7 separate regions of the Homo sapiens genome follow, and all the other regions are linked to region 2. Evidence: promoter capture Hi-C in human tissues and cell types (Jung and others, 2019). All regions are on one chromosome and are shown on one strand. The core of a region is centred on a gene start or on the middle of the fragment in contact, and the rest is flanking DNA. Distances in the headings are between cores, read along the strand shown.

Evidence for each region. The method cuts DNA at HindIII sites, captures the fragments that hold promoters and counts their contacts. A contact is called where the count stands out against the background at its distance.
Region 1: the fragment with the promoter of SCYL1 here is called in contact with the fragment with the promoter of CAPN1 in region 2 in 1 of the 25 tissues and cell types used here (adrenal gland).
Region 3: a fragment that was not itself captured here is called in contact with the fragment with the promoter of CAPN1 in region 2 in 1 of the 25 tissues and cell types used here (spleen).
Region 4: a contact is called between a fragment that was not itself captured here and the fragment with the promoter of CAPN1 in region 2, in 2 of the 25 tissues and cell types used here (dorsolateral prefrontal cortex and lymphoblastoid cells).
Region 5: the fragment with the promoter of FAM89B here is called in contact with the fragment with the promoter of CAPN1 in region 2 in 1 of the 25 tissues and cell types used here (lymphoblastoid cells).
Region 6: a fragment that was not itself captured here is called in contact with the fragment with the promoter of CAPN1 in region 2 in 1 of the 25 tissues and cell types used here (spleen).
Region 7: a contact is called between a fragment that was not itself captured here and the fragment with the promoter of CAPN1 in region 2, in 1 of the 25 tissues and cell types used here (liver).

What each region holds. Positions count from the first base shown.
Region 1 is chr11:65,522,591-65,526,332 of GRCh38, reverse strand. It overlaps SCYL1 (SCY1 like pseudokinase 1), which reads right to left and starts at 1,250. Exons shown (of 18, transcript NM_020680.4): 1 at 1,069-1,250; 2 at 619-759; 3 at 290-412; 4 at 1-209. The coding sequence starts at 1,179. RefSeq lists a silencer at 903-1,402. The HindIII fragment of the contact is 17,278 bases long and covers 1-3,742 here.
Region 2 is chr11:65,179,869-65,183,177 of GRCh38, reverse strand. It overlaps CAPN1 (calpain 1), which reads right to left and starts at 1,250. Exons shown (of 22, transcript NM_005186.4): 1 at 1,165-1,250; 2 at 210-477; 3 at 1-50. The coding sequence starts at 476. CAPN1-AS1 (CAPN1 antisense RNA 1) reads left to right here and starts at 1,344. Exons shown (of 2, transcript NR_145677.1): 1 at 1,344-1,953; 2 at 2,106-3,307. RefSeq lists enhancers at 1-773, 774-1,563 and silencers at 586-880, 1,482-1,931. The HindIII fragment of the contact is 8,891 bases long and covers 1-3,309 here.
Region 3 is chr11:64,863,771-64,867,242 of GRCh38, reverse strand. All of the region lies in intron 2 of EHD1 (EH domain containing 1), which reads left to right. Among named protein-coding and RNA genes, the nearest start is that of MIR10392, 13 kb to the left of the region's middle. RefSeq lists enhancers at 1,122-1,421, 3,035-3,472. The HindIII fragment of the contact is 8,078 bases long and covers 1-3,472 here.
Region 4 is chr11:64,892,162-64,895,991 of GRCh38, reverse strand. ATG2A (autophagy related 2A) reads left to right here. Exons shown (of 41, transcript NM_015104.3): 40 at 550-702; 41 at 783-1,446. The coding sequence ends at 1,019. MIR194-2HG (MIR194-2 host gene) reads left to right here and starts at 2,543. Exons shown (of 3, transcript NR_133640.1): 1 at 2,543-2,581; 2 at 3,166-3,402. The HindIII fragment of the contact is 4,598 bases long and covers 1-3,830 here.
Region 5 is chr11:65,571,288-65,574,603 of GRCh38, reverse strand. FAM89B (family with sequence similarity 89 member B) reads right to left here and starts at 2,066. Exons shown (of 2, transcript NM_001098785.2): 1 at 1,644-2,066; 2 at 414-1,241. The coding sequence starts at 1,934. The coding sequence ends at 963. ZNRD2 (zinc ribbon domain containing 2) reads right to left here. Exons shown (of 4, transcript NM_006396.3): 4 at 2,716-3,213. The coding sequence ends at 2,870. RefSeq lists silencers at 1-466, 1,746-2,195. The HindIII fragment of the contact is 7,840 bases long and covers 1-3,316 here.
Region 6 is chr11:65,490,910-65,494,402 of GRCh38, reverse strand. No RefSeq gene overlaps it. Among named protein-coding and RNA genes, the nearest start is that of LINC02736, 4.6 kb to the right of the region's middle. RefSeq lists a cis regulatory region at 270-512, enhancers at 251-545, 791-920, 412-923, 924-1,434, 2,271-2,565 and 1 more and silencers at 251-545, 2,240-2,741. The HindIII fragment of the contact is 5,007 bases long and covers 1-3,493 here.
Region 7 is chr11:64,769,628-64,773,147 of GRCh38, reverse strand. SF1 (splicing factor 1) reads left to right here. Exons shown (of 13, transcript NM_004630.4): 4 at 2,740-2,892; 5 at 3,095-3,184. Among named protein-coding and RNA genes, the nearest start is that of SF1, 7.2 kb to the left of the region's middle. RefSeq lists an enhancer at 323-412. The HindIII fragment of the contact is 3,620 bases long and covers 1-3,520 here.

The DNA of each region.
Region 1 (3,742 bases), core at 1-2,500, 340 kb before region 2:
CTGCCACTGCTGTCAGCCAACTCCGGGGGGTCATACTGCTCAAGCTCGGGGATCCCCTTGCGGGGAGGTCCCCCACCGTTGCCCTGGGCCGAATACATGTAGTCCAGGCCCCCAAGCTTCCACTCGCCAGCTCGGTCCACGAACACGGCGGCCATGCAGACATTGTTGTGGATGAGGCTGCAGTCGTTGACCAGGAAGCTGAGGGCTTTCTGGGGGCAAAAGGAGCCATCACGCCCCAGCACCTGCAACCCCCCATCCCTGCTCTCATCACCACTGCCCCCCACCTCACCACGATCTGGTGTAGCCCCCAGGAGATCTCCAGCTCCTTCAGGCCACCAGCCTCCACTCTCGCCTTGAGGTATATTCCCAACGGGGTCACAGCCTCTGTCACGACGTGGAGGCATTTTTCTGTCTGGGGAAGGGGACACAGGGTTATCAAGGGCGGAGGGGCAGAGAGGAAGGAGAGATAAGCGACTTGAAGTTGGGAGAGATGGGGAAGAGGAAACCAAATCTGGGGGTGCTGGGGCACATAGGGTGGAAACAGGGCAGGAGGGGAGACAGGAGTGGGTAACCAGGACATCGTGAGGGGCAGAGACGGGCAGGCAAGGCAGCAGGTACCTCCAGTCCATCGATGTAAGCCAGGATGTTGGGGTGCCGTAGAGTTTTGAAGCGCTTGAAGGCAGCTTTGGCCACCTGGGTCTGCTCTTCCGCGCCAGGCTTCACATCATAGACGAAGATGGACACGGGGCTGCCTGTGGCCTAGGGGAGGGCAGCGGGGCCTGAGATGGTCCCAGAGCTGTTGTGTGGCCGGAAGACAAGGGCCCGCAGCCAGGTCTCTCCCCAGGTCAGCCTTAGGGACACTTCGCCGGGCCCACGTGACCCCGGCCCTGTCCGCCTGTCGGTCCCTCGGTCCCTCCGCCCGCCACGTAGGCACTGCCCGCCCCCTCCCCGGCCTGCTACCCCTTGGTTCCGCCGCCACGTCAGGCCGGGCGCAACGCGACGGGGTCGGCGGCGCGGAATAGGCAAGGCCCAGGTCGACCGCGGCCTACGGAGCTCGGCCGCACTCACCTTCTTGCGGCCGCGGTGCAGGGCCCAGGGCCCGGGCAGGCCGCCCTCTGGGGGCTCCGGGATGAGCTCGAACGGAAAGTCCCGGACCGGGTCCCGGGCAAAGAACCACATCGTCCCCACCGCCGCCGCGGGTTCGGGCGCCTTAGCTCCGGGTCCTCCGGCCGCCCGAGCCGGGGCGGGGCGGAGAGGGGGCGGGGCCTGCGTCAGACGGGGGCGGGGCCCGGGGGCCAGGGCGGGGCCTACGTCGGGGCGGAGCAGGACGTGAATTGGGGCGGGGTGGGGCAGAACCTGAGTTGGGGCGGGAAGGGGCGGGGACAAGGGAGGGGCGGGAGAGGGGCGGGGATGGGGGGGCTAGGGAGGGGCGGGGATGGGGGGGCTAGGGAGGGGCGGGGATGGGGGGGCTAGGGAGGGGCGGGGCAGTCCGGGGCGGCGGGCGGTACTAAGATCAGTACTCCGCCGCCGGGTAAGTCACTTAAAACCCTCCAAGCCTGTGAGCCCTTTTATCTAAAGAGGCCTAAATCCTAAAGGATAATAGAGCCTGCCTTCTAGCGTACTGTAAGGATGAGAGCTTAAGAAGGGACAGAGGGATGGGGAAACCGAGGCAAAAAGGGGGAGAGGTAGAAAGACTGACAGGCATGAGAGGGTGCAGTGAGGAGTGAGGCAGAGACCCAGAGAGGGAGACTGGCCCCACGCCAGACACTCTCTCCCACCAGCAAGTGGGTGCCTCCAGGCTCCGGGGAGGAGTCGGTCCTGGTGAAGTGACCATGAGAGAAGCACGAGGAGACGCCCCAGAGAAAGAGCGTGGGTGAGAGGCAGAGAGTGAATCCAAGGTTCCAAGGAGGTCCAGAACCCCGGGGCAGGGGCGGGCACCCAGGGAATGGAGGAAGGAGAGACTGAGGAGGGAAGAAGAAGTGACCCCAGGAAAGGAGGGAGGGAGAAGGAGCAACTGGGCAGGTCTGGAAGAGGCCAAAGGGCTGGGAGGGGACCCTGCTCTCCTGGGCTCAGCTGCCCGGCTCTCAAGCCAACGGATTGCATCTCTCAGTGCCTGTGTAGACAGCCATGGAGTGGTGTTAGCTCAATCAGCACATCACACTGGTGGGGATCCAGCCCCTGAGCTGTGTAGGAGGGGCTGGACAGGCAGTGGTTCTTCTGCTGGTAGGGTCTCAGGACCCAGGCTTGGGGACAGTGCCTCAACCACAGCTATGGAGCACTGGTGAGATTCTGGGACTGGTTATGAAAAGTCTGGTTGGGATGCCTTTGGGAGATAACTCAAGGGCAGAGATGCCACAGTGAGACGGTGCTGGGTTTCAATCACGGTTCAGCCCCTCATTGGATGTGAGAACTCACACAGTTCCCTTTGGGTGCGTTAGGTCCCCCATCTATAAACTGGGGTGAGGGCCAGGCACAGTGGTTCACGCTTGTAATCTCAGCACTTTGGGAGGCCGAGGCTGGAGGATCACCTGAGGTCAGGAGTTCCAGGTCAGCCTGACCAACATGTTTGAAGGGGGCCTGCCCCTCCACACCTGTGGGTATTTCTCGTCAGGTGGAGACAAGAGACTGAGAAAAGAAATAAGACACAAAGTATAGAGAAAGAACAGTGGGCCCAGGGGACCGGCACACTCAGTATACGAGGACCTGCACCGGCGCTGGTCTCTCAGTTCCCTCAGTATTTACTGATTACTATTTTCACTATCTCTGCAAGGGGACTGCGGCAGAACAGGGTGATGGTGGGAAGAAGGTCAGCAGGAAAACATGTGAGTAAAGGAATCTGCATCATAAATAAGTTCAAGGGAAGGTACTGTGCCCGGATGTGCACGTAGGCTGGATTTATGTTTCTCTTTACCCAAACATCTCAGTGTAGCAAAGAGTAACAGAGCAGTATCACCGCTAGCATATCTCACCTCCAGCCATAGGGCAGTTTTCTCCTATCTCAGAATAGAATGACTGGTGGGCTTTACACCAAGACATTCCATTCCCAGGGACATACGGGAAACAGAGGCCTTCCTCTTATCTCAACCGCAAAGAGATCTTCCTCTTTTACTAATTCTCAGCACAGACCCTTTACGGGTGTCGGGCTGGGGGATGGTAAGGTCTTTCCCTTCCCACAAGGCCATATCAGGCTGTCTCAGTCGGGGAGACAATACCCAGGCTTTCTCGGGCAGAGGTCCCTGTGGCTTTGCACAGTGCATCATGTCCCTGGTTAATAGAGAATGGAGAATGGCGATGACTTTTACCAAGCATACTGCTTGCAAACATATAGTTAACAAGGCACATCCTGCACAGCCCTAAATCCCTTAAACCTTGATTCAATACAGCGCATGTTTCTGTGAGCACAGGGTTGGAACTAAAGTTACAGATTAACAGCATCTCAAAGCAGAAGAATTTTTCTTAGTACAGATCAAAACGGAGTTTCTTATGTCTTCTTTTTTTCTGCATAGACACAGTAACAGTCTGATCTCGCTTCCTTTCCCCCACATATGTGTGGGCGGAGGAATACCTAGGTGCGGAGGCAAGAGATTGAAGGCACAAACTGTTTCAGTATAAAAAAGAAAATAGTTAGAATAAGAATAGTCATAATACAAATTAGATATAGAGATGGTCATGAACAATTATCAATCATTGTTATAAGCATTATTAATCATTAGCTTTTAATATTACTCTTTGTTGCATTACT
Region 2 (3,309 bases), core at 1-2,500:
TCTGTGCGGGTAGCTCCATCCACAATGAACTGGGGGTTTGACAGCAGTTCCTACGAGAGACCCAGAGTCCTGTTCCTCGGCCAGCCCCTCCCAGAAATTGGCACCAGGCCACCCCAGACCCCATTCCCCACCAGGGACATGGAGTCCCATCCCTACTCCTCATCCAGGATCTGGCTTAGCCGAGTCCCACCCAGGATGGCCCCTCTCACCGTGGGACGCTTCCACTTGATGCCATAGGTCTTGGAGGAATTGGGACCCAGGTCCTTGTAACCCAGGCTCTGGGGTACCGGGGGGAAGGCCTCATCACGGAAGAGGGTCCCACTCTGCAGGCATCGCACCCGCAGCTGCTCATAATCCTGGCCCAGGTACTTGATGGCATTCTCATGGCGGCCCAGGCCCAGCTCCCTGGCCCGCTGCTTCTGCACTTGGGCTGACACCCCAGTGCAGTACACCGGCGTGATGATCTCCTCCGACATCCTGCCGGACAGATGGGCCTGCTCAGAACCCAGGCCTTCCCAAGACTAGAACCTGGGCTCCTGCCTGCAAGCTCTGCTCTCCTGCCCCTGCTTATCCATCCCCAAACCTAGGGTTTCCCTGCCTCACTGCTCCCCTCACAGAAGTAGGGTTCTCAGCCACCTCCCGGTGCTCCCAGTGAATCCAGGAAAGGGATTTCCCAGTTCCCAGGCGTGCCGGCCACCTCTCCTTTCCCGGATCCCATTGTCAGGGGCTTGCAGCTCTGTAGTGAGCCAGCAGGTCAGGTGGGGCAGGGCGGAGCCTCCAGACAGCACAAGGAACTGGGCAGGTGGGACACAGCAGGGAAGGCCTCTTTGATCCTGTTCACAGGCCTGCAACCCCCTCCCCAAACTAACCAAGCTCCTGGTGCACCGGCCCCTTGCCGTGGGCTGAAAACCCCAGACGGTCGGGGTCCCCCTCCTCAGGCCCCCGCAGCAGGCTCGATATCAGAGCTGGTGGGCCCTAGCCCAGCCCCTGGGGACAGCGGTGAGCCAGGCTGGGACAGGCGCCTGGGCTGTGCCGCTCCGCCAGCCCCCACCCCTGCTCCAGGAACGCAGAGGCCCCCGAGAAGGGACCGTGCTGGGGCAGCCCCTCAGCCCAGGAGCAGTGGCCAGGGTCAAGGAATCCCGGCTCGGCTACCCAGCTTCTTACCTGGGGGAGGGGTGTTTGGGGGTCGCTGCAGTCCCTGAGGCTGGCTTCCCGGTGGCAGCTCAGGGCAGGGCCCAACCAGGAAGAGCGCTCCTCCCCGCCCTCCTCCCGCCGCCCCTCCGCCCTCCGCCCTCCCTCTCTCCTTCTCCTCCTCCTCCTCCTGGGGCTCCTACCCCGCTTCCTCTCGGCTCTCCCTTATCTCTCCGGCACGGTCTCTGACTATCTCTTACTCACGGTGTCTCCCCGCCCCTCCCTCCGCAGGCCGGGGGCCAATTCCGCGAGAGGACAAATTAGTAAAAGGCAGAGCAGTCCCCGGGGAGGGGCCAGCGCGGGGGGGGATGGGGGGGCTGGGGCGCGGCGGAAGGGCACCGCGGGGAACGGAGGGGGAGGGCCGGGCAGGGGGTATTTTTAACCAGGGGCAGCAGCTCGAGTTGCAGGGCCGGACGGCCGCACCCCACGCGCGCCCTGGCGGGCATTCCGGGGCGATTGTGCGGCGGCGCCGCCTCCCGCAGCCCCGGGCCCGCCCGGTCCCCAGCTCCCCTCGCTCCGCGCGACCGCAGCTGCTCCCGCCGTTCCCAGCCAGCCCCGGCGCGGGGCCGAGATTACCTCGGGCTGCGGCAGCTGCTCTGAGGAGGGGCCGGGCTGGCAGCGAGCAGACCCCTGCCGGACACTCAGCAAACGGCAGCCTCACCCCGCAGGGCCGCGCCACTCCCCTTCCCCACCCCACCGCCGCGTCCCGGCTCAGCGCTCCCCGGGGAACGCAGGGGGACCGGGCTCGCTGCGTGACCTTGGGTAAGTCCCTGCCCCGTTCGGCCCGACTTTCCGCATGCGTGCATCCTATGGGATGGGGTTGGGCAATTGTGGGAGCCCATCTTTCTCTAACGTTCTGGGGTTTCTTGAACCTGGAAACTTAGAGAGGTGGACATCCCTGTTCTCTCCCCCAGGCTCTCAGCCCACCCACCTGGAAGCGCCCATGTGTCACCTTACCCAGGAGAGGGCGGCAGAGGCTGCGAGCAGGACGGCAGCCCCCTCTCCCCACCCCCAGGACCCTGAGATCCTGCTTCACGGGCTGCAAGAAGTTGGGGGGCCAGGATTCGGCGCGGAGGCCGGGGGTGTGGGTGGGGAGACTGCAGAGACTCCCGAGACCCCCCCAAGTCAGGGCTTTTCGCTGGTCTCGCAGCCCCAGCCCAGCAGCTGCTGCAGTCTTGCATGTTGTGGATGCAAGCATTTTGCTGAGGAAACTGCATAGCGTTCCCAGGACTCTAGGGCCCACGACCCCTCAAAAGTTAAGAGCCGCTGATCTAATCTAACCCCACTTTCACCCTCAGTTAACAAAAGAGGAAAACTGAGGCCTGAGAGGGTGTGACTTGCCTGAAATACCTAACCTGGTGAGTGATGGGTGGAACCAGCTCCTAGGCTTTCTGCGCAGGTGTCCAGGGACAGAGAAGGGTGGTTTAAACTAGAGAGGTGGCAGGCAGAAGTAGATGGATTTGATAACTATTTAGGATACACCATCAAAATTTAACTCAAACTGGATTACACACCTAAATATAAATGGCCAAACCATAAAACTTTTTTTTTTAAAAATGGAGACAATCTTAACAATATTGGGTTTGAAAAGATTTCTTTTTTCTTTTCTAAAGGCAGGGTCTTGCTTTCATTGACCAGGCAGGAGTGCAGTGCCCTGATCACAGCTCACTGTAACTTTAAACTCCTGGGCTCAAGAGATCCTCTCACCTCAGCCTCCTGAGTAGCTGAGACTACAGGCACGTGCCACGACACACAGCTAATTTTTAAATTTTTTGTAGAAATGGGGTCCTGCTGTGTTACTCAGGCTGGTCATGAACTCCTGGGCTCAAGCAGTCCTCCTGCCTGAGCCTCCCAAAGTGCTGGGATTACAGGTGTGAGCTTTGGCACCTGGCCAGATTTCTTAAATATGACACAAAAAGTGTAAATGATAGAAGAAATCAATAAATTGAACTTCATCAAAATAAAACGCTTTTGTTTCTCAAAATGCACGAAACTATTAAAAATGAAAAGATAAGCCATAGACTAGGACGAATATTTGTAAAAATTCTATCTGATGTAGGACTTGTATAAAGAACTTTTACAATTGAATAAAAATCCAATAAAAATGGACAAAACATT
Region 3 (3,472 bases), core at 358-2,857, 320 kb after region 2:
TTCACCATGTTGGTCAGGCTGGTCTCGAACTCCTGACCTCAGGTGATCAGCCCGCCTTGGCCTCCCAAAGCACTGGGATTACAGGTGTGAGCCACTGCGCCCGGCCTCATTTTAACCACGTTTTTTGGTCATGGACCCCAGAAAAGTAGATTTTAACTATTTGTAGGTGTGCATTTCACTGGCATTTAGCACATTCTTCATTGTTCAGCCGTCACCACCATCCAGCTCCAGAGCTCTTCACTTCCCAAATGGACACTCTTCCTGTTCAACACCAGCTCCCCTCGTGGCTCCCTGCACCCCGCAGCCCCTGCACTCCCCATTCTATATTCCTTTTCTGTGCACTTGATTACTCCTGGTATCTCCTGTCAGTGGAATCCTACAGTGCCGTATCTGTCCTTTTGTGGCAGGATGTTTTAAAAAAACTTTTAGGTTCAGGAGTACATGTACAGGTTTGTTATACAGGTAAATGGAGTGTGGTGGGGTTTGGTGTATAGATTATTTCATCACCCAGGTAATAAGCGTAGTATCTGATAGGTAGTTTTTCTTTTCTTTTTTTTTTTTTGGAGACAGGGTCTCACTCTGTCACCCAGGCTGGGAGTGCAGTGGCACAATCACAGCTCACTGTAGCCTCCACCTCCCGGGCCCAAACAATCCTCTTACCTCAGTGTCCCAAGTAGCTGGGAATACAGATGCATGCCACCACACCCAAATTTTTTTAAATTTTTGTAGAGGGGGGTCTCGCTATGTTACCCAGGCTGGACTCAAGCAGTCCTCCTGCCTCAGCCTCCCAGAGTGCTGCGATTACAAGCGTGAGCCACCATGCCCAGCCTGCTAGGCAGTTTTTCTGTCCTCACCCATTCCACCCTCAAGTAGGCCCTGGTGTCTGTTGTTCTCTTCTTTGTTGCCATGTGTACTCAATGTTTCACACCCATGGATGAGTGAGAACATGCGGTATTTGGTGTGGAACATGCGGTATTTGGTTTTCTATTCTAGTGTTAGTTTGCTGAGGATAATGGTCTCCAGCTCCATCCATGTTGCTGCAAAGGTCATGATCTTGTTCCTTTTTATGGGTGGATAGTATTCTCTGTGGTATATGTACCATGTTTTCTTTATCCAGTCTACTGTTGATGGGTATTTAGGTGGATTCCATCTTTGCTATCGTGAATAGTGCTGCAATGGACGTATGTGTGCATGTGTCCTTATGGCAGAATGATTTCTCTTCCTTAGGGTTTATGCCCAGTAATGTGATTGCTGAGTCGAATGGTAGTTCTGTTTTAAATTCTTTGAGAAATTGCCAAGCTGCTTTTCACAGTGGCTGAACTGGTTTACATTCCCACCAGCAGCGTATAAATGTTCCCTTTTCTCTGCAACCTCACCAGCATCTGTTATTTTTAGACTTTTTAATAATAGCCATTCTGACTGTTATGAGATGTTGTCTCATTGTGGTTTGATTTGCATTTCTCTAATGATTAGTGATGCTGAGAGTTTTTTCATATGCTCGTTGGCCGCGTGTGTGTCATCTTTGGAAAAGGTCACAGACTTATTTCATCACTTAGCATCATGTCTTCTAGGTCCCAGGATTTTCTGAGCTAGAGCTTCCTGGTGGCTTATGATCCCTTATCAGAGGGGGCTCTGGCTTTTACTCACTAAAACCACTCCCTCTGCAGGTGGGCCTTTCTCTCCAGCCCACCCGCTTGGGCCATGTTTTCTGTGTCCTTTTGCTCGGCATCAGTTCTGTCACTCCCACTGGGGCCTGAGCTAGTCAAGCTAACAGCAAGGCCCCTACCTTGGTGGGTGCCAAAGCCTGAAGTCTTGTTGCCTTGGGCAGTGCCGGGGGTGCTGGCAAGCCCTGTTCTGTACTTGATACCGGCCGTCCAGCTCTGATCTAGAGAGTGGCTCAGTGTTACCGCTGTGCAGTGTAGCCTTTGGCACCTCTTGAAACCCGGCGTCTTTTAGGCTGAGTGAGGTGCCTTTGAGGGCAGCGAGGGCCTGGTGGGCTAAGGAGCGCCGGTGGGCCTGGTGGGGCGTGCAGTTACGTGGTCACTGCCTGCATGGCACAGGCCTGAGTGCTGTGGCCCTTTTTGTCACCTGTGGGTGTGGCTGGCCAGTCACTGTGTTTCCCTCACAGCAAAAGCACATTTTCTGTAATAAACAGGAAATTTTAGTCACCTGCAAAGAAATGGGCTTACCTCTGTTGACTCCAGCTTGAGATGACGGCCAGTAACTGGGTTTCAGAGCAGGTGGGGCAGGGCTTCTGGACCTGGGGCAGGGAGTTTTGGAGTGCTCACTCTTCTTTCTTCCTTCCCCTCCTTTTTCTCTCTTTCCCCAGGGCCCCCCAGCCATCCAGGGGGAGGGGGGAGTGGGGCCTTGCTGGGTGGAGTTTGGGAGGGTGACCTCAGCTCCCCAGGCGCCGTCCTGACTCCCAGGCCAAAGCTAACATGGGCTGAGCACAGCCCATCAGGGCGCCCTCATTCCCAAGAACTCGGTTTTGGCATCACAGCCTCCCCAGCTGTGTGAATTCTAGTTTCAGCTTGTGGCGGGCTGAAGACAAATGATTTGACAAGGGGAGAAGCTGGGCCCCCTTTTTGCTGAGCGAGGAACCTCAGTCCTTGAGTCATCGCCTTTTCAGTACTGACCTGCGTTCCCAGAGCTGGCCATAAAAGGCTGTGGGCTGCGGGCCCCAGGCAGGCGCTGCAGGCTTAGCTAGTGTGGCCTCATCCCCCGGGGGCAGAGGCGGCCTCTCCCTGCCCCTGTTTCCCTCATGTTGCCCTTGGCCTCTCTTTCTGGTTTTCTGCCGAGACTTCACTCTTTGGGCATCCTCTCCTGTGGAGCTCAGAGCCAGCTGCAGGGAGTCCGGGTGCCCGGGGCCTTGTACTTTGGAAGCAGGAGCCTGTGGTGGCATGAGGTGCCCTGGCACGATGCCCTTCCACACCTTCTGGGCACAGGGAACCTGGCAGCTCTGCTGTCTCCGACCATCCACCTGAGCCTCTGGAAGGCTGATCGGGCCTCCCCGTCCAGGCTGGAGGCCAGGACCCCGGCTCCCCTGCACTGCTACCCTGTTAAGAAGCTTGGCCCTCGGGGCTGCTTCTGGTCAGAGTGCCCTATTTCCTGTTGAGCTGGGGCAGGGAACGGCCGCACATCACCTGTGGAGAGGCTGCCGAGGCTGTGTGGCTGAAGCTGTGGATTTGGGATTTTCCTTACATTTTGGTGACTTTGCTCAAGGATGAAAGTCCTTGACCGGTGATGGGTCCAGGCCGCTGGCCCCTTGTTCCCACAGAGCCCTGGCTTCCCCTGCCCCAGCCTGCCAAGGAGGCTGTCCCTGTCGGGTCCTGGGCTGGAGGCCCAGTGCTCCCACACGCCCTCCTCCCTGCAGCCCGGCTGAGGAATTGGTATTTAAATTTCACAGATGGAGAAAGTAACTGAGAAGTTAGGAAAAGAACTTCAGGTCACAGAGTCAGTGGCAGGGGGCGGG
Region 4 (3,830 bases), core at 610-3,109, 290 kb after region 2:
TGGTGCATTCTGGAACCTGCAAGCTCAGACCCCAACAGGACAGAGGGCAGGGCTCCAGGGGAGGTGGGAGGGATGCATGGGCACCAGGGAGCCCCCGGGAGTGTTCAGTCAGGTGGGAAAGAGTGATGCCAGGTGAGATGCTGGGCAGAGGATCTGGCAGACAGAAGGAAGGATGGGCCTCTGACCATCTGGCAGGGGCGTCTGGGGGGCCAGGCAAGGAGCGGTCAGTCTCAGGCGTGCAGCTGCGGCAGCCATGTGGAACCTGCTGAATGTGGTGGTCAGCAGGAAGAGAGGTTTGGGTTGAGAAGACTTTAGGAAAGTCCCCTGAGGAGTCCCACGTTCCTAGGTTCCCTCAGCAGAGTGGCAGGTGCCTAGGAAGGGGAGGAAGAGTGGGAGGAAGTGGGGAGTGAGGCTGAGCAGGACCCCCTAGGCCAGCACAGTGACAGGCAGGGAGGCTGAGGGCTGGTGGGGTCTCAGACTGTCCTGGGGGCCTGGGGCTGACGTGTGCCCCAGCCAGCTGTCCTCATCCAGTGCTCCCATGTCCCCCAGGCCACAGCTGAGACCGTGTATGACATCCTGTCCCCGGCAGCCCCCGTCTCCCGCTCCCTGCAGGATAAGCGCTCTGCGCGGAGGCTGCGCAGGGGCCAGCAGCCTGCCGACCTGCGGGAGGGTGTGGCCAAGGCCTACGACACAGTGCGAGAGGTGACCAGGCCCCCGCCCTGCCCCAGTCCCCCATGCCCATCTCCTCACACAGACCCCGCCCTGACCTCTGGCTTCCACAGGGCATCTTGGATACAGCTCAGACCATCTGTGACGTGGCATCGCGGGGCCATGAGCAGAAGGGGCTGACGGGCGCCGTGGGGGGCGTGATCCGCCAGCTGCCCCCGACTGTGGTGAAGCCGCTCATCCTGGCCACGGAGGCCACGTCCAGCCTGCTCGGGGGCATGCGCAACCAGATTGTCCCCGACGCCCACAAGGACCACGCCCTCAAGTGGCGCTCGGACAGTGCCCAAGACTGAGCCTGGGGTGCCCGGCACCCAGAGGGTGCTGCCCACCATGCTCCTGAGCCTCCCAAGAGCTGCAGCCCACGGGCCCGGCCCGGCCTGGCCCTTCAGGGGATGGCCACTGTGAAGGACGCCTTCCCAGCCTGCCCGTTGCCAATCTGCTGTGAGAGGGGGGCCTCCCTGCCTTGGGGCCTTAGCCCTGGCTCTGCACTTTTCCTCCGGGGAGAAAGGACACTGCCCCTCCCCCGACCTGGGCCCACACTGCTGCCTTCTCCCAGGACGGAGGCTTTTGGACCCTCGGACCCCATCCCACTCAGCCAAGTGTCTTTCTGTGTCTGGGGGGAGGAGGGGATGATATCCGTGTGGTTCGATGTATTATTTTTAAGCTCCGTGAGTGCGTGGGTCAGTGTCTGCATGAAGTGGAATAAACTGCCCACCGCCAGCCCCCCTCTCAGATCCTCTGTCCCTGTGAACCCTGGCCTCAGCCTTGACCTTGGCCCCGCCCCAGATCCCACCTCTGCACCCAGCACCTCCCATGTCACCACCAGGGGTCGCCATGCCTCCTGGCCTTGCCCAGCAGATCAGGGCACAGGGGGACCCAGAGGCACCCAGCCCTGCACGCCTTCCCCTGGCTCTGGGCTCTGCCTTGCCCCTCCCAGGAGGCTGCCACTCCAGCCCCACTCCTGATGTGGCAGGAGCTACGTGGGGCTGCCAGGGGAGGGAGGGATGGTCCTTGGAGCCCAGCTGACCCTGCCTGGTTGTCACTTGAGGCCACTCGGGGAAGGCTGAGCCTGAGGCATTCTAGATGTTGCTCTCACCATCCCTAGTGGGGGCTTTTGGGGTGGCCCAGGCCTTGGCCCCTTGGTTTCCACTCTGATCTGGGGTCCCAGCTCCAGCACTTGGAGGGGGGAGGGGTGCTGGAGCAGCGCTGCAGCCGGAATCCCAACCCTCACTGCACAAAGCTTTACACAGGACCAGGGAGCGCCCATTGCCCCCCACACATCTTGTTTCTTGTGAGCTGCTCCCATCGCGCTCCTCCCTGCCCTGCTTCCCAGTGGCGCTGCACAGAGGTGGGTGGGTCCATGGGGAAACCAAGGCTCGGGTTGGGAATCAGGGAACCCTCACCTTGCTAGGTTCCGCAGGCCTCTGGGGTTAGCAAAGGTCCCCCAGCCCTGCTCTGTGGCCCCTTCTGAGTGGGGGAGATCTGGGTACTGGGAACAGAGCAGAAGCTTTGTCCCGAGGGACCCTGGGGTCCTGGCTGCCCACGGACAGCTGGGGCAGCAGGCTGGTAAGAGACCAGGAGGGCGAGGCCCTGGAGGAGACAGGGCTGTGGAGACTCGGTGCTGATGCCACCCGGAGAGGCAGATGGGGCCCAGCCTGATGCTTCCTGGACCCGCCCCACCCTGCCCGGGCACAGTCCAGGGCTTCCTGCCCTTCGAACCGCACTTGTGATCAGTATTGACGGTGGTGGGATAATCATTAACCACCACCAGGGGCTGGGTCAACGGCTCAAAAGGCCCTGGGCCCAGGGTGTCCCCACTTCCTCCTTGTGCCCCGAAGGCCAGCCCGGCACTCAGGTAAGAGGCTTCCTGAGTGGTAGGACCCCTGCCGCCCTCCCTGTCCTAGGAGGCTCCTGAACCCAGGCACCTCTCTGAAGGGTGGCCAATCCTGAGGAAGAAAGGGACCTGGACAGCCATGGGGTGGCCGGGACGAGCCCCTTCCTCTCTGTGCCTTGGTTTCCACTGTGGGATAAGGGGGCCTTAGCATCAGCGCTCAGAGCTGTGGAGCCAGGATTCCTGATCGGGCGCTGTCTCTGCCAGGCCAGGGCACTTGGACACCACGCTGCAGGAGGCTGGTCTCGCCCAGGCCTCTGTGGGAAGGGCCGCCAGGCTGAGTGGAGGGCCAGCCACCAGCTACGGTGTCTTCCTTCGCAGGTCTGTCCCCCCAGGCAGAAGGATTCCAGCCCAGGGATCCCCCATCCCACCCTGACTGCATCCTGAGAAGGGGGGACGCCACTTCGGGAAGGTTGTTGGGGCAGCACAGGCCCTGGGGCCCTGCTCTGTGACCTTGGGCGGCCCCCTCTGTCTCTCTAGGCCTGTATGCACCACTGGCAAAGGGGGCAGGGCCCAAGTCTACTCTAAAAGCTCCCCTTTCTCTCCAGAAGCTTTGGAGTCTCCCAAAATGCCTGCTGGGTCTCTGCAGGACTGGCACCTGTCACCGGAACCTGTCTGGGAGGGACGAGAACACGCTTTGCAAGAGGAAGCTCTGCCTCACAGAGCCCTGGGCTCACTCAGGGACCCTGGCCAGCAGCTGCTTCCTCTCCCCACAGCGGAGAGAGACCCAAGGGTCCCAGGGCGGATGCTTCCCACCAGGCCAGCCCAGCGTGCAGGGTGGCCTCGTAAGTCCTGATTGACATATGGACAGTGGTTCAGAGAGGTTACGCTACTTGCTCAAGGTCACCCAGCTCCCAGGCCCCTGCTGTCTTCCAGGCCACTGAGGTCCTAAGCGTCCTTCCAGGCGAGCCACTGCTCACAGCCTGTTCCTCATGTTCTGCGGCAGGTTTGTGTATCTACATCTTTTCCAGTTCCCTGTCGTCCCCCTTCCTACACCTCGTCATCCACTATCCCTGTTTGTTTTCTCTGTTCCTTTCTAGTTCTCTACCTGCTCCTCTTATTTTTATTTGAGACAGGGTCTTTCTTTGTCACTGAGGCTGGAGTGCAGTGGCACAATCCCAGCTCACTGGAGCCTCGACCTCCCAGGCTCAAGTGATCCCCCGCCTCAGCCTCTTGAGTAGCTGGGACCACAGGCATGCATCACCACACCAGG
Region 5 (3,316 bases), core at 817-3,316, 390 kb before region 2:
CCCGCCCCCGCCGGGGCCCCTTGCTCCGGCGACTCCGGCCACCCATTTCCTGCGCCGCCTCAACCCCGCCCCGCGCGGGGTGGAAAGTTTCCCTCCTCAAGGTGGGCGGCTCCTTCTCCTTCCTTCCCGGCAGGCAGGGAAAGCCCGAAGCGAACTGGGAGGAGGGAGCGGGGGACTCGGAGGTCGCGGGCGAGAGAGGGGAAGTGACTCGACCGCAGTCACCCGGCGGCTGAGCCAGGCTCGGCCAGCAGGCAGCGCCCCCAGCCCCGCCCCGGCGGGACGGCAGGGCCTTCACTCGGCGCGGGGCGGGGGGGGAGGGGGTCTCGGGCGCCACCTGCTGGCAGAGCGCGGGGCCGCACCTGCCACAAACACCGCGGTCTTCCCGCCCCAGAGCCAGCCAGGCAGAGCACAACGACGCTGAGTGTATTTATTTATCTACGCGCCCTGGAGACCGGCCCCTAAATTTAAATATCCAGCACGGGGCCTTGGCCCTCCTGGCCGTGGGTGGTTATTGGGACGGGTCCTGGAGCCCTTCCAGGGCAGAGGAACCCAGAGCCCGGAGGTGGGATGCCCCTGAGCCAGCAGCTGCCGATAGCAACAAAAGGTGAGGAGGAGATGGGAGCCAGGCACTCATCCCAATCCCAGAGACGCCAAGCGGAAGGGAAGATGCTTCGGGCCCCACCGCAAGGCTGAGGGTTGGCCAAGCTGGGGGTGCACACATGTGGAAGAACTGGAGGCCCAGTGCCATGAGCAGAGGCTGTACCCTAGATGCCCGCCCCAGTGCCAGCCAACCCAAGACAGGAGAAAGAGTTTGGCAGTTTCGCCTCTGAGGAATACATGCCTGGCCCTCCTGTGAGGTGAGGCGGTAGGGGGGAAGGCGCAGGCTCCGAAGTCTGAGGGCTTGCCGGAGGGGGAGTTTCTGAGCCTTTTGCATGGGTGCATGCCCCCTGCCCCCCAGCCCTTCAGAGGCTGATGTGGAAGGCATCCTGCAGCCACTGGTCACGGGCATTGTGCGTCTGGGGCACAGTAAGGGGTGGCGGGTCAGGAGGCAGGCTGGCATCGGGAGGCTCCTCGTCGTCAGACAGGCCCGCATCCGGTGGGTAGGAGCTGTCCGAATGGAGGGAGGATGACAGGTCCTGGCAGAAGCTCAGGTCTTGGCACAGGTGTTTGTAGTCCTGGATTGACTCGTACAGGCCCCACAGCTGGCACAACAAGGACATGTCCAACTGCCGCAGCCCCACCTGCAGACAACTGAGGGTGGGCTGGAGTTGGGGTCCAGGCCACCCCAGCCCAGCCCCGCCCCCTGGAATAGTGGGCCCCAGCCCATCTTCCCCGCACCTTCCTAAACGAAGTTTTTGTGGACATCAGGCACCACCTGCAAGCTATGCAACTTTAGTCATGACCCTCACCCAAAAAATGGGGTTATCCATTTAGCCGGATGAAATGAAGTAACGTCAGCAAAACATTTGAAAATATATGGTAACTACTGCCATAATTGGTAACTATCACTAATTATTGTTACCATAACCCTTGCAACCCAACTGGTGCCTGCAAGTCCTCTGAGACCCAGGCCGCCTGTCCCAGTCCCCTGCGTTCCTCCGCGTCAGCCCCCCGCCCAGCTGGCCCGGCGCCCACCCACTCACCATCTCCTTGCGCAGCGCGGCCAGCGCTGAGTCGAGGTTGACAGGACGACGCGGGCCGGCTGCGGGTCCCGCGTTGGCGGCGCCGGCGGCGTGGCGGGGCCCGTCCGGGGCGCGGGCGGCGCGGCTCAGCTCGTCGTGGATGCGGCTGCGCTGGCTGTAGACGCGCTCCAGCTCCCGCCACGAGCCCCCGCTCGCATTAAGGAGGCCGCTGAGGCCGCGCGGCAGCGGTGGGAGCCCGGCCAAAGCGCAGCCCGCCCCGCCCGGCGCCTCTGCCGAGGGCAGCCCGTTCATGGCCGGGGCCGGCGCGGACGGCGATGCCACCTCCTTCCCTCCAACGCTCCGCCCGGGCCGCCGCCCGCAGGCCCCGCACCCCGCGGCCCCGCCGGAGCCCAGCCGCCGCCCGCAGGCCTCGCTTTGTTCCTTCCCCAGCTCCTCAGACTCCGCCTCTGCCCCACCCCCTCTGGATGGGCCGGGCCTCTCTTAAAAAGGCAACGGTTGTGGGACCACGTCGCGCAAAGCTGAGAAAAGGCAACGGGACATCCACTCACTCAAGGGGAGATGGAAAAATGCGGCGGAGGGGGGAAAAGGCTGAAGGGGGCAGGCGTGGTTTCTTCACGGTTCTTTTTGCTACCCCGTCTCCCCGCCGCGCCCCGCCCCGCCCCCACACCCAAGGAAAATGATCTAACAGTGGAGTCAGGAGACTGGCAAGTCCACACTTGGTGCCTAACGTGCCACCTGACGCTGGGGTCACCACAAACTCCTGTCGGTGTCTGAGTACCTGGGGTGGGCATGAGATGGGATAGGCTGATAGGGTCAGGATGCTCAGGGGAAGGAGGGGAATCTATCAAGGGGATCGGAACACAAAACCTCACTTCCAGGTGGGGAATGGACACCAGATGGCGGAAGAGGCTGCAGAGGTGCTGCCAGAGACAAGGCTAGGGTCCACCCCTCTGGCTGCTACCTTTGAAAAGGCTATGGCTTCTTCCTTAGAAAAGGGGCATCACATAGTCCTCTACCTACTCCCTCATCCTGACTGGGGAAACTGAGAAGAAACAAGCTCAACTCATCTCAGGGCGTCAAGGAGAGCAGAGTGGAGAGGTGAAGAGGCCAAAAGCTGGAAAAAGGTGAGTGGAGCTGGGGCTGGCATGCACACTTGGAACCAGGAAAAAAACAAACCACACAGAGGAACAGCTGTTTTTCTAGAGGGTTTTTCTCAGGGGCTTCTCTTAGTGCTGTAGCTGCTGCAGGCTGCGCAGGGCCTCCGCACATGCGCGGATAAGGCCACACAGCTGGATGCTAGTCTCCAGGGAGGTGCTAGAGCCCAGTTCAGCAGAGGCCCAGGTCAGCTTCTGCAAGAGGGCTGTCTGTGTGCAGGCCATGACATCTGTATTTGGAGGCACAGCAGGAGCAGGTGGCCCCTGGGCTGCCTTGAGTCCTGCTGCAGCTCCCTCACAGTGCTCCGGACGAGGTACTGGGGGCTGGGGCGCAGGTCGAGAGCCCAGGGGGAGCTCTGAGGCTGAGGCCAGCTGGTGCTCCCGAGCTTGGGAGAGGGCAGCCTGGGCATTCAGAGCTAAAAAGAGGAGAAAGTGGGTGGAATGGTCAGGATGCCTGGCCCACCTCAGCCCTGAGCCATCTCCTTTTCTGCTCTGCTCTTTCTGTGCTTGAGGTGTTTT
Region 6 (3,493 bases), core at 132-2,631, 310 kb before region 2:
CAACATGGTGAAACCCCATCTCTACTAAAAATACAAAAATTAGCTGGGGTGTGGTGGAGGGCACCTGTAGTCCCAGCTACTCGGGAGACTGAGGCAAGAGAATCGCTTGAACCCGAGAGGCAGAGGTTGCAGTGAGCTGAGATGGTGCCACTGCACTCCAGCCTGGCAACAGAGCAAGACTGTCTGAAAAAAAAAGAAAAAGGAAAGATCTTAGGCCTCCTGGCTGTACCTTCGAGAAGGCGGGGTGCTGAAAAGGACTAAAAGGGCAAAAATTTTGCATCCAGCCTCCAAGCATACAGTCAGCAAGGCCCTACCTTAATCCTCCTGACTCAGGCCAGGCCGGAAACCTCCAGAGAATGCCAGAATCCACTCCACCCCTTCCCTGATTGGCAAGTCCAGTCAGGCTTAGTCAAGAGACAAGCTTCTGAGAGATCCGTCATCTACGGCCCTGGAGCCCAGAGGCCGCAGTGGCTGAGTCTTCATGGCACCTGGATTCCTCCCAGGCCTCCTTTGATTTTATCTAATCCTGTAATTTTTTCTTTAATTCTGCATTTCTAGAGCTCTCTAGAAATGCAGGTCAGAAATGAAGGGCAAAGACAGTCCCAAGAAAACAACTTTCTTGGTTTTTGTTTTTTTTTTTTTCCTTGAGACAGTTTTTTGCTCTTGTCACCCAGGCTAGAGTGCAGTGACGGGATCTCAGCTTACTGTAACCTCTGCCTTCCGGGTTCAGGTGATTCTCCTGCTTCAGCCTCCCAAGTAGCTGGGATTGCAAGTGCCTGCCACCATGCCCGGCTAGTTTTCATATTTTTAGTAGAGACAGGGTTTTACCATGTTGGCTAGGCTGGTCTGAAACTCCTGACCTTAAGTGATCCGCCTGTCTCTGCCTCCAAAAGTGCTGGGATTACAGGCATGAACCACCACACCCAGCCCAAACTTTCTTGTTTTCTAAAGATTTTAGGAATTTGCAGTTCCCAATCCCATCCCCTGGCTGCCCACCTTCCCAGAGCCGATTTCTGGAACAATGTGACCTTCCGTAGCTGCTGCACAAACTTAGGCTCCCTCACCTACTGTGACCGCCCCCACAGCAGGAAAAAACCTACAGAGATGATGCAGCTCAGAGCTCTATGATATGGAAGACAGAGCATTGTTTTCTAGGGGGTTTTGGACAGCTAATAATTTACCCTGTAGAACATGTAAAATTATCCCTTGAAACCCAGCAGACAGGCCTGTCACTTCACAGAGAGCTGAGGGCAATTCCAGCAAGAATGAGTTACAGAAACTAGAAGTGGCTGTGTCATTGACCTTCCCAAAATGATATGCGGAAGAGGCAGCTGGGGCCTCTTCCATCACAGCCCTGAATCACCAGGGCAGGAGGGTAGGGGAAACAGATTCTCTCTTCCTGAGACAAGAAAACATCTTCTAAATGTACCCACCTCTACTTCTAGCAAGCATTCCTTGTTAGATAGAATCCTCTTTCGGGGAGGGGAATAAAGGAGAAAGTGTCTTTTTTGTTGTTGTTGTTCTTTCTTAGGAGAAAGTGTCTTAAGAAAGCAATTCCCCACCCCCTGCCTGAGAGTTCCAGGCTCCTAGTTCCTTCCTTGGTCTATTTGCTGCGTAATGTACTTGGCCCTGGGCCCTGAAGCCTATTGGTGGATCCTCCCGAAAGGCCTGGCTGTGGCAGCCCAGCTGTAGCACTGTGGGCTGTAGGAGGACAGATTGACATCGAGGGGCACAACTGGGCTGTCCCCCATGCCTTCCTGGGGGCTGCGTCTGTAGAACCGTCTATCCACTCCATGTGCATCTTTATTTTCTGTAACGTGTATTGAGTGCTGTGCCTCACAACAGCCCTGTGGGGGAGGTGGTGTTGCTTTCCCCTTAGACGGATGAGGAAACTGAGGCAAAGAGCTGTCATTTGCCAGATCACTAGAGCCTGGCACACAGTAGAAGCTCCATGTGTGTCTACTGAGTAATGACTCAATGAATACATTGGAATAGTATCTTTTTTGGAATTTATAACACACACACACACACACACACACACAACCAGAATACTGAAAAGCTCCCACAGGAACAGATCATTCCACAGGAACAGATCATTCCACAGGAACAGAACGGATTTAGACTTGACGTAAATTCGAATGCCCATCAGGATGGAGTGGAATGGGACTGAGCTAGCTGTACTGCGTGGGAAACTGGGAACTGCTTTGCTCTGGAGGTCTGTTCAGAACTTCTGAACCAACTGCCATCCACAGAGACAGGGGAGAAAACCCAGAGGCCACCTGTGGTTTCCATGCAGCTCTGATGGAGCATTCACCCCTCTACCTCCTACCCGCCCCCTGCCCAGTGCAGGGTAGTGAGCCCGGCTCAGCCCTTGCTGTCCTTGCCCCATGATGAGTCACCGCGGGAGACGCCTGCTGAGTGAACCTTCCCAAGTGGCCTGAAGGAACAATGAAGCTCTCAGGGAGTCGCAGCCGCGTTCTTGTGTCCCTGATCTTTTCAGTCATGCTTCAGGTCCCTGGCAGATGTTTGTATTGGCCTGGCACACCCAGCATGAAGCTGATTAAACATCCTCCATGAGCATGCTCACACACACACACACACACACACACGTATATTCATTCTTCCTCATGCAAGTGTGGCCCACATCCCACAGACACACATCTCCTGGGACAAGGGGGTAGCGGCCACAAGGTTTCAGGCACTTTGTCGGGGTGTGTTTCTCAACAATGCCGGATTAAAACAGAAGCCCGCAGAATGACAGGGCCTTCTCCTGAACTGGTAATAGTGGATCAGAGCCACCCAGTGTTTGAGTGGAATAAACCTCTAGGTAGCAAGTTCCCATTCCCACAGGTATCCTCTGGAAGCTGGGTGACCTTCCTAGGGTTCCGCAGTATCCCTGCATTGCGAAGAAGCTGGTCAAGAAAACTTGAGATTTTTCTTCCAATCCTGAAAATCCATAATTCTAAGTAGCCCCTCATGCTACAATTGAAGAATCTAAGACTCAGAAAAGTTACATTCCCACAGCACTTTTTAGAGATGCAGGCAGATGGCCTCTGGGGCCCGGACATCTCCCTGAGTTAGCTGTAGGGACACTCACGCCCTGGCTGCCCATCCTGTGGGCTTTCTCCTGGAAGCTTATCCAAGGGGTCAGGCTGCATTCGGTCTAGCCATGAGGGGAACAGATTAGTACAGGAAGTGATACAACAGGAACAGGGCCCAGGAGAGACTGTGTTCTGGCTAGAAAATTCCAGAAGCCAGGCTGGGCGTGGTGGCTCACGCCTGTAACCCCAGCACTTTGGGAGGCCGAGGTGGGCAGGTCATTTGAGGTCAGGAATTCGAGACCAGCCTGACCAACATGGTGAAACCTCGTCTCTACTAAAATACAAAAATTAGCCGGGCATGGTGGTAGGCGCCTGTAATCCCAGCTACTCGGGAGGCTGAGGCAGGCAGGAGAATCGCTTGAACCCGGGAGGCGGAGGTTGCCATGAGCCGA
Region 7 (3,520 bases), core at 490-2,989, 410 kb after region 2:
TAGGGGACAGTGAGGTGGCCCGTTAACCTGCCTTTTCAGTACCTGCTTTGGCCAAAAGCCCAGGGCATAGAGTTTTTCTCACAGGTACACAGTGCAGGGACTAAAAATATTTTTGAGCATCACTGAACTTGAGCAAGCCAGGAGCTCTGGTCAGCTCATTGCTGCAGTCTTCCTGCTCATGGTTTTGAGATGGTTTCAAAATCAGATGAGATTTCTAACCAACTTCTTTCACTGCCAGTTAACTTTCAGCCTTGGCCATTGCCTTGGGGGTGTTGGGAGGGGCCAGAATATTCTCACCTATTTTGGGAAGGCATGCAACCAACCCTAAATTACTTTTTTTTTTTCCTTAAAGGGAGCGTGGGCCTCAAACAGCTGTGGTCATGTCATTTCAGTTTGCAGTTTCTCTCACCTCAGAAAAATAAATTGTGTGGGGGAGATGAACTTTTTTAAACTGGAATTTTATTAGCTGATTGAACAGCTAAAATTGGTCATTTAATTAGAAGGGCAGTAAGTCTCTCCCTCTCACTGAATTTTCTCTTAGTACATACAGAATAGTTGAAAAGACTTTGCTTTAAAAAGTAGTGTTTTTGGTTTTTGTTACCCAGTTAATAGCTTATTAAATCAGGAAGATGATGTAATGGCTTTAGAAGTCACTCACTCATGCATCTTTCTTCCGCCCTTTGCCAGGAAACATTAACTTCCTTGTTTCTCCATATTGACTCTTTAATTTGACTTACTACATTTGCTATATTTTACCTATAGATAGATTTTGGTTGTAGGGTTGTGTTGTGTTTCGTTTCTTTTTGAAGATTTTTTTTTTTTTTAAATTTACATTGTAGGTCATAGACCACAACTGTTTAGTGCCTTTTTGGCCTTTTTCCCTTTAATAATATGTCTACAGGTCACCAGTCAATTCCTCCAAAGGTTGAATTTTTAACAAACCTTCTTTGCTTCCTGGATAACTGGGATTAGAATTTAGTTGATCTAGCCGATGCCTGTTGGAGGTGAAGAAGTCGGGCCAGTCTAACCTCTAGAATACTAGCTTTTGCCTTTCACTTCTGCAATTTGGGAGGAGGTTAAACTGTTGTGAGGCCTTCACATGGCCAATTGGGTGCTGGTAAGACTTGTTTTTGTAACTAGCTAAGAATGCTTAATTCTAGACAGCTGTGGGGTGGGAATTAGAAATGTCAAGCATGTTAGAAATAAAACCAGAGCAGGGTTTTTCCTCCCTTCTATTCAGTTTTGAAAGAGGCCCTAATGCCTGATTGGTTTTGCTTTTGAGCCCAGGTTGGAGGGAAATGCATGGGTTTTCTTAATTAAGATAATTTCTTAAAAAGGTGTTATATCACTTAAGCCACTTTATTGTTATTTTGATGCTGCTTAACTTGCACAGTAAAAACATGTTTAAAACTTTTCTTGTAGACTTAAATGTATAAGATGGTAGTCTAATGAGCTGGGGTATGTTTGCTTTTGTTCACTCTTAATGGATTGTGCTAACAGTTTATACAAATGCTAGAAACGGAGGTGTCATTTAGCCGTCATTAGCCATGAACAAACCTGACCTTTTATTCCATCGTGTGTGTAACGTGGTGTGACATGGTTCCCTTTAGGCTGAAGACAGTGGGAGCAGCCGAGTTCAGTCCTTGCTCTCCAACTAGGCAAGGTTCTCTCAACTAAACCAAGGGTATAGGAGTCTTGATTACTTTCAGTATGTTTTTTTAATAACCTGATCCACATGGTCTCTTCCCTTCTTGCAGCTGCTACTAAATTTTCATTCAGAATATCAAGCTATGGTCCTTTTTGTAATCTTAACTCAAAATTCTAGGAGTGTAACCTCTCTTTTTTATTACCGCAAAATCCAGCTGTGGTAAACTGACCATTTTATCATTACATTTTTTTACTTGTAGCAACAGCATTTTACTCCTTAAAAAAATGAGAGAGAGAAAATCTGCTTTCTGGACTTGTAAACTCTGGTGGAGAATCATAGGTTTTCCCCTTGCTGTTTGCAGGTTCAGACCCTAGACAAGTATGACCAAATCTGCATTTGCAGCCTCTCGCAGAAGCTGCTTTAGCACTTTAACGTTTTTCTCTACCCAGACTCCCCAACCTCGAACAGCCAGAAAACAGGTTGTCTCCTGGGCCTTGGACACAGCCAGCCAGGCCATTGAAGGAAAAGCAAAGACGAAGCGAACCATCTCTCTCCATTGTGGGGGCCAAGTAGCTGCAGTAGCCTTCAGTCCCAGTTGCATTGGGTTAAAGAGCTCATACATACTATGTGTTAGGGGTACAGAAGCTTTTCCTCATAGGGCATGAGCTCTCCAAGAGTTAACCTTTTGCCTAAACTTGGGGTTTCTGTGGTTCATAAAGTTGGGATATGTATTTTTTTTCAAATGGAAGAAAATCCGTATTTGGCAAGAAGACTCCAGGGGATGATACTGTCCTTGCCACTTACAGTCCAAAGATTTTCCCCAAAGAATAGACATTTTTTCCTCTCATCACTTCTAGATGCAAAATCTTTTATTTTTTTCCTTTCTCACACACACCCCAGACCCCTAACGTTAAGCCAGCTTCCATCTCCCCATTCCACACGATCTTGAGTAGCACACGTTATGGTCGGTTCCTCCGAAGAGTGTTGTATTAGGGTCTGAGAGGCAGAGGGGCTGGGAAAGACTTGTTATAGTCCGTGTGGGAATGAGAGAAGTCGGTGCAGAATAGTAAACGGGAGTCTGTTTCCCACAGGTCCCCTTCCCCTGAGCCCATCTACAATAGCGAGGGGAAGCGGCTTAACACCCGAGAGTTCCGCACCCGCAAAAAGCTGGAAGAGGAGCGGCACAACCTCATCACAGAGATGGTTGCACTCAATCCGGATTTCAAGCCACCTGCAGATTACAAGTAAGCGGAGGGGCTCGGTCATCTGGGATGAAGACACATGCAGATCATGGGTGACCTGCTGGGATGGGACAGTATTGGTACTACTCACCTCTTGCCTCAAGTCACCCATAATTAGCACTTGGTACCAATATTTGGTTTTAGAAAAGCCGCTGGCTGTGTCATTCTCCAGAAATGTGCGGTGACACAGGCTTTTCTTTCTTAGACCTCCAGCAACACGTGTGAGTGATAAAGTCATGATTCCACAAGATGAGTACCCAGAAATCAACTTTGTGGGGCTGCTCATCGGGCCCAGGTGAGTAACTGCTGGTCTATAGGATATAGAATTCCTTTAGAGCCTGTGAGATGTGTCCGTTTTGTGCCTAATTGGGGACTGTTGGCTTACTTTTCCCCTTTTTGGTAGGACATTTCATTTTGGCTGAATTAATGCCTTTCTGTGAGAAGGTGTCTTAACTTCCCCACTAGTGCGGAGAAGTCAAATCCTCAGGTTTACTGTGGCTGACCATAATATAGAGTTCATGGAGCTCTTGGTGGGAAAATCCAATTCTCTGCGCTTGTGGTTTCCCACCAATGCCAAATTGGTCCAGCCTCTCTTCCCTCTTGAGTGTGAATTTGTCAGGTATAAACTTAG